2 separate regions of the Homo sapiens genome follow, and region 1 is linked to region 2. The links are contacts of gene promoters, found by promoter capture Hi-C in human tissues and cell types (Jung and others, 2019). All regions are on one chromosome and are shown on one strand. Each heading gives the region's core, a stretch centred on a gene start or on the middle of the fragment in contact. The rest is flanking DNA. Distances are from core to core; before and after follow the strand shown. Region 1 has its middle 130 kb from the start of THORLNC. Region 2 holds the start of TMEM177 (transmembrane protein 177).

The links. Contacts are between HindIII fragments. The study calls those that stand out against the background at their distance.
Region 1: a fragment that was not itself captured here is called in contact with the fragment with the promoter of TMEM177 in region 2 in 1 of the 25 tissues and cell types used here (lymphoblastoid cells).

Annotation. Positions count from the first base shown.
Region 1 is chr2:118,316,169-118,320,014 of GRCh38, forward strand. No RefSeq gene overlaps it. Among named protein-coding and RNA genes, the nearest start is that of THORLNC, 130 kb to the left of the region's middle. RefSeq lists an enhancer at 1-267. The HindIII fragment of the contact is 7,555 bases long and covers 1-3,846 here.
Region 2 is chr2:119,677,761-119,681,539 of GRCh38, forward strand. TMEM177 (transmembrane protein 177) reads left to right here and starts at 1,441. Exons shown (of 2, transcript NM_030577.3): 1 at 1,441-1,516; 2 at 3,072-3,779. The coding sequence starts at 3,094. RefSeq lists a silencer at 1,288-1,517. The HindIII fragment of the contact is 8,254 bases long and covers 1-3,779 here.

The sequences.
Region 1 (3,846 bases), core at 1,000-3,499, 1.4 Mb before region 2:
ACGCTACTACACTGGGCTAATTCTTTTTGTAGAGTCAGGATCTTGCTATGTTGCCCATGCTGATTTCAAGCTCCCAGCCCCAAGTCATCCTCCTGCCTCAGCCTCCCAAAGCGCTGAGATTACAGGCATGATCCACTGTGCCCATCCCATCCATTAAGTTTCAATTTTAATGTCACTTCTTTGTGGAGGCCTTCCCTGCCTGAAGCAAACCACTTCTATTAATGTCTCTTGGTTGCATGCCTCATAATTTGCCATTATATGTATGTGTGTATTTGTTTTCTCACCCTTTTCTCACAACACACTCATTTAACAGCAAACTTCCTGAGGAAAGTACCCTGTCTATTTCTTCCCAGCTATTTACCTAGTACCTGGTATAGTGCTGAAGTGGAAGAAGTGCTTAATGCTATTGTTGAATGGCTGATTGAGAGATTGCATGGATACTGAGTTCGGCCATCCTGAGCTAAACCAATTTCCTCTTCTAACCTGGAATGCTTAGGTCACATGCCTGGAACATACAGTCTGTCAAGCTACAAACTCTTAGTTCTGTGCTTTTTCTAAGACATCAGTTCTACAATGCACACAGATTTTGTTTTGTTTTGGTCTGTTTTTGGGACTGAGTCTTACTTTGTTGCCCAGGCTGGAGTGCAGTGGCAGTGGAGTTGCACTGCAACCTCCACCTCCTGGGTTCAAGCAATGCTCGTGCCTCAGCCTCCCTGGTAGCTGCAATTTCAGGCATGCGCCATCACTACCATACCCTGCTAATTTTCATATTTTTAGTAGAGATGGGGTTTTGTCATGCTGGCTTGGCTGGTCTTGAACTCCTGGCCTCAAGTCATCTGTCAGCTTCAACCTCCCAAAGTGCTGGGATTACATGTGTGAGCTGCTGCACCCGGCTCACACAGAGGTATTTTAGAGACTAGAAGCTGCAGGAGAAAGAGGTTGACACTGTGCTGAGAGACAGATTTTGCTGGAGCAGCTAGCCAATTCAGATGCTTATCAACCTACTGACCGGGAGAAATAATAATGTTTCGTCAAGTTGACTTACCAATTTTGTCGCTTTAAGCTCATGTTTGGCTGTGATCTGACAGGTGCTGTTGGTAATAATACCAAGTTGTGGGCATGCAAGAAATGTTTTGTATTGGGCTGTGTCCCTGTGCCCTCAACACAAATAGAATGTTCAGAAGTTGAATGAATGTGTGGGTGTAGCATCCTATATCCAAGGGGGGGATGTTCTAAATGTAATAAGACATTTTTGTGACCCCAAATACCTTTTGAGTATTAATATTTTGAAAAGAAGATAAGTTAAAGATGAATAATAAAGACAGGTACGATATTTTGTCTTACTCTCAAAGTTAAAAGCAGTAAAAATAAATTAATTGACATGTGTCCAAAGCAATCACCTATTTGACATGGGAACCCTTCTGTGTTGTCCTAGAACTTCCACGGATGGCAGACACATTTCACTCTTTGCAAGGCCTTTTCTTATTAAGGATGACCAGTGTTTCCCTGAGGTGACCAGCCTGTTCAACGGGCTACAGAAGAACTGGGGCACAGAGAATGCACTTCCCTTACATGTGCACTGAGCAAGAAAAGAACATTTGGCAAATTTCTGTGACAGCTGGAGTGACGGTGACCATTTGTGGGCTTTAAGTAGTGACAGGACACATTAAATTAATTTTGATATTTTATAAGTTAAAACCTTTTATTTTGTCTTTATGATAAATGTTCTCTCCCTAGCTTTACCCTCTAGGGCAGAGATTGGCAAACCTTTTGTAAAGGAACAGATCGTAAATATTTTAGGCTTTGTGGGCCAGGAGATTTTTCTTGCAACTCTGCCATAGCAGTTTATAAGTAGCCATAGACATTATGTAGATAGATGAATGTGGCTGTGCTCCAATAAAACTTTATTTACAAAAACAGGAAGAGGGCTAGATTTGGCCTGTGGGCTATGGTTTTCCAGTGCTTGCTTCAGGAGACTGGAGTCAGTACTTTTTTTCTCCTGTGAAAGATGAAAACTTTAGTCACTAATTTCCAAAGACTGCTTCTTGCTTGCAAATATGTAATTAATATAAGCAGCAAAGTATAGTAGAATTTCCATGATTTTACATCTACTAAAACAAAAAAGATTAAGTTCATTGTGCCTTTAAAATGAAGGAACAGTATCTAATCTGAAAAACTGTTAAAAAGTTAAAATGATGTATAATTTCCAAATTCTGCTTCTATGCGGCAGCCCTCCTGCATGTGAAATTGTCGAGTAGAATAGCTATTATTTCCCACTGATGAACCACAAATGGGCTGAAGATATTTGCATACCTTTTTACACACAATATATACCAGCACTCTAACCTCTGATTCTTCTTACCAGATTCCATTTAATTTGTCATTAATTAGTAAATTGTTATGTGAAATGCTGCAAAGCTTCTTGGGTAAAATGGCCAGTGTGATGATTATTCTTTTGGAAGCTATCTGAAATTGTTACTACTGAGCAATTTCCATGAAAATAGAAGGGTCTTTGGAGCTGTTCTTTTAAAATAAGAATAAAATGAACCAAATGGGGAGAACACATAAAGGCAATAATAAATCAAGGACAAAAGACAAGAAACTAGTCCCCAAAACAGTATCTAGGAAGAAACTATAGTAGCTTCTTTTTGCAAAGAGTAGGTACTTCTTCAACTTTCTTTTCAAGCTGCAATAAAAACAAAACAAAGTTAAAGCGAGTCCTAAAGTAAACTTTCAGAAGTCCAGTTAGTATCTGCTTTAAGAATCTTCAGGTCTCTGAAAACCTTTATCTAAGAGGGTGGGGAGGGGGGAATCTTTGCCAACTATAGGTCAGTTCTTTCCTTCTTTAAGTTACACCCAGTGTATGTATTTGCATTTATTTTGTCAATTGCAGAATCATTGCTTTGAGTGATTGTCATTGTCTACATCTTTCTCTCTTTTTTCCTTCTTGCTTGCTTTCTTGCTTTCTTTTTCAATTTCCTTCTTCTTTCCCCTTCTTTTCTTTCATTTAAAGCCAGGCAGAATGCACCTTCCTGATAGATGGGATTTTGCCTTCAAGTTGTTTCCAGTGTTTAATTCCTCCTTACTGTTACCTCCGGAACCAAGTCCAAATGAAAGGCGAGCCTCTTTGACCCTCTGCCCTCCCTTTCCTGCCTTCTCTTCTCCTGGGTTTCAATGGTTGATTGAACGGTGTGTTAGGTTCACTGAACTTGGTCTTGGCTTCGGTTCCAAGCAGGGACAAAGTCAGCTTCCAGGCCAATTTCCATATGAAAGCAGCTGAGATCTCTTTCCCCATTTTGGAATTCCAGGCAGCACCCTGGGCTCTGACTTCTCAGATTCAAAGTTCTTGCTCAAATTCCCCCCACCCCCACATTCCAACCCAACCCTAATCTCCTCCCACTTTGGTTTCTCTGCCCACCAGGTTTCCAGGTCTCCCAGCACACTACAGTGGCCCTGAGAGGGCAGCTGTGAACTCAACTCAAGAAAAACTCCTTCACGTTTCTCTGAGGCTGATGGCGTAAGAGAGGGATTTGTTTATTAGGGTTTGAGATGGGCAGGGAGAAGTGGGAGGTCCCACGTAGGACAGAGAGAAGGTGGAAGAGTCAATGCTTGTTAGGGATGAATTTAAGAAAATTATACTTCCTGTTGCCAACTATTTAGGAACAAATACAGCCCCATTAAAGAATTTATCCAGCTGTTTGTAAATTTTGGTTTGAGGTCTTAGGTAAACTGCCTCCAAAATTTCTGCTTTACTTCCAAGATGTGGTTTTGCCAAACTAGAAAATGACAACAAAAAAGATGTTGCCTCTTTCCATTGCATTTCTTATGTAAGCAAATGGCCTGTTT
Region 2 (3,779 bases), core at 191-2,690:
TATTTGGTTCAGGATCCCAATAAAAGTCACATATTGCATTTAACTGCAATGACTCTCAAGTCTCTTTTCTTTTGAGTCCCCCTCCTTCCCTGTTTATGCCATTGATTTGTTGGATAAACCACGTCATTTGCCCTGTAGAATGTCCCACATTCTGGCTTTGGCTGAGGTCACATTGCACTATTTACATACAAACAACTGAGCAGCCAAAATTGGGGGGGGGGGCTCAGAAACAGAACAGACTTTAATAATAATAGCTAATGGCTAGGCGGCACAAACCGTGAGGCACAGGTTACATATACACCAACTCATTTTATCACACAGCTAGTAAGGGGTGGAGCCCGGCTTTAACCCTAGGCAGTCTGTTTTCACCCTCTGTAAAGGATTGGGCATGGCTGTGTTCCAAGAAAACTTTATTTACAAAAGCAGGTGGAGAGCTGGATTTGGTGCACAGATTAGATGATCCCTCATCTACCTCACAGAGCAGCTGGAAAGGAGAAATGACAGATGGCACGCTGCTCTGTGGACTGTACAGTGTGAAGCACCTGGGAGGAGCTTGGGGGGCAGCGAACATGGTAATAAACATAAAGCTCAGAGCTCCCCGCCAAGGGTGAGCGCTTCCAGACGGAGAAGTACACGGGCCGGCCAGTCAGATGGGCATGGGTTCTGATGGGGGCCCTGCCATAGGCCGCCTGGTGACCCACGCGGGGCTGCCGTTCCTTCGGGGGTTCAACGGCATGATCAAAGACACCGGGATGTGTGTGTGTGTGTGTGTGTGTGTGTGTGATGATCAAAGACACCGGGGTGGGTGTGTGTGTGTGTGTGTGTCATGATCAAAGACACCAGGGTATGTGTGTGTGTGTGTGTGTGTGTGGCATGATCAAAGACACCGGGGTGTGTGTGTGTGTGTGTGTGGCATGATCAAAGACACCGGGGTGTGTGTGTGTGTGTGTGTGTGTGACGGAGTCTCGCTCTGTCGCCCAGGTTGGAGTGCAGTGGCGTATTCTCGGCTCACTGCAACCTCTGCCTCCCAGGTTCAAGCGATTCTCCTGCCTCAGCCTCCCCAGCAGCTGGGGACTACAGGCGTGCGCCACCACGCCCAGCTAATTTTTGTATTAATCAAAGACGCATTTCAACGCAGAGGAGGAAGTGCTAGCGGACCCACCCCAAGGTGCACAGTTAGAGAAGGAGCCTCTGCGGCGGCCGGAGCCCCCCACGGACATCCCCTTGAGGCCCCCCCAGCCACACCCCCAAGAGTCCCGCCCCCAGACCCGTCGAGCGAGCTCCCCTCCCTGAAATCCTCGCCCCGAGATCTCCGGCCGGCGAGCTCCGCCCCCTGAAGTCCCCATCCCAAGATCCGGGGCCGGCGAGCTCCGCCTCCCGAAGTCCCCGCCCCCAGATCCCCGGCCGGCGTGCTTTGCGGCCGCCCTGCCGCGCGCACATGTAGGCGTTCCGAGCGGCGGCGGAGGTGAGCGCACGGACGAGCGGGAGGGACCCTTCTCCGGCCTGATGCGACCCGGTAACGCGTTCAGACTGCGGAGTAGCCTAGGGGCCCAGAGTGGAAGCGTAGCGAGGACCCCTCTGCGGGGCTCCTGCAGCCCCTCCTCCCCCAGCCACCGGCGGGCTGCATGGTACTGTGTTCTAGGCCCACCCCGCAGCGCGATGGCCCTAGGGACGTTGGACTTTGGTCCAGACCTTTCCTTTCTTAGCCTCACTTTCCGCATTGGGAAAAAAAAAAAGCCCGAATGATAATGATTCTTATAGGAGTTCTTGATTAAGATAGGCCAAGCGGTACCCTGCGTTTTTGTTTGCGGCAACTCATTCGTTGCTCATTAAGCACTTTTCACGGACAGGAATACAGTAAGTTTCAATCAAAGTGAAATAATTGTGAATTTTTACTGACGTATTCACGGATGAAGTGATAGGATGCCCGGGGATGTTTCAAAATAAACCAGTTGGACGGAAGTGTGGTGGAAAGAGAAATCAAACAAGATTGGCCATGAGTTGATGGGATTGAAGTTGATGGATGTACTATTTTGTCTACTTTGGTATATGCTTGTAATTTGGCATAACAAGTTTTCTAAAACAAAAAGTTTGCTGTGGACACCTGACTATGCCTGTGTTAGCTTGCTAGAGCTGCCATGCCGAAGTACCGGAGACTGGGTGGCCCAACCAGCAGAAATTTGTCCTCTGGGAGTTATGGAGGCTGGAAGTTCAAGACCAGGGTGTTAACAGGGTTGGTGTCTTCTGAGACCTCCCTTCTTGGCTTGTAGGTGGTAGCCTTTTCCCTGGATCCTCACATGATCTTCCTGCTGTGCCTGTTTGCATCCTAATCTCTTCTTATAAGTACACCAGTCAAATTGGATTAGGATCCATACTGATGGCCTCATTTTATCTTAATTATCTCCTTAAAGACCCTGTCTCCAAATACAGCCACAGTCTGAGGTACTGGGGGTTAGGACTTAAATATATGAACTGGGGAGGAGGAGGAGACACAGTGCAGCCCATAACACTGTCACTTCACTAGCTTAGGATTTTGGCCATTTAAGTTTTCACAGCTTTGAAATAGGGTTAGCTGTAGTAATTAGGTCATGGGGTTGTGAGGGTTCAATCGGTAAGAGTGCTCAGAACTGAGTCTAGCATATAGTAAGCACTCAATAAATTGAACACGTTTTTCCTTATAAATTAGTAATCATAGGGCTTTACCATGGGATGAGTGGAATGAGGCAGTTGGAGTGCCGTGCCCAGCGATGGGAATAAAAGTCATTACAGCCATTATTATAAGGAATATCTGCTGCTGTGCCAGACACTAAATGTTTTATGTATGTTTATTCATGTGCTCATCACCGCCACCCTAGAGGTGGGCCATTACGACACACCTGTTTGGCACATGGGGAAATTGACGCACAGAGACGGAGCTGGGATTTGAACACAGGCACTCTGGCTCTAGAGCCCACACTCTTCACCACTATGCTGTGTTACTTTGGTTTAAAAAGGTGGTGTGGACCCTGGAGGATGTTCAGTCTGCAGGCTGACCCAGGGAAACTGGCTGACTTCTCTTTTTCTTGGCCCAGATTGTCCGCAGTGACTACACTCATGGCAGGTCCCCTGTGGCGGACCGCAGCATTTGTGCAGAGACACAGGACAGGCCTCTTGGTGGGTTCCTGTGCAGGCCTGTTTGGAGTTCCAATCTCGTACCACCTCTTCCCGGATCCCGTGGTCCAATGGCTCTACCAGTACTGGCCTCAGGGCCAGCCAGCTCCGCTCCCTCCACAGCTGCAGAGCCTCTTCCAAGAGGTGCTACAGGACATAGGTGTTCCTTCAGGCCATTGCTACAAGCCCTTCACCACCTTCACCTTCCAACCTGTGAGTGCAGGCTTCCCAAGACTCCCTGCTGGGGCTGTGGTGGGCATCCCTGCCAGTTTCTTGGGAGACCTAGTGATCAACACTAACCATCCCGTGGTCATACATGGGCATACAGTGGACTGGCGGAGCCCAGCAGGCGCCCGGCTGAGAGCTTCCCTGACCTTGTCCCGTGAAGCCCAGAAGTTCGCCTTGGCCAGGGAAGTGGTGTACCTGGAAAGCAGTACCACTGCCGTGCACGCCCTGCTGGCCCCAGCTTGCCTGGCAGGGACCTGGGCACTGGGCGTGGGTGCCAAGTACACCCTGGGGCTCCATGCAGGCCCCATGAATTTACGGGCTGCCTTCAGCTTGGTGGCAGCAGTGGCAGGCTTTGTGGCCTACGCCTTCTCCCAGGATTCTCTCACTCATGCCGTGGAGTC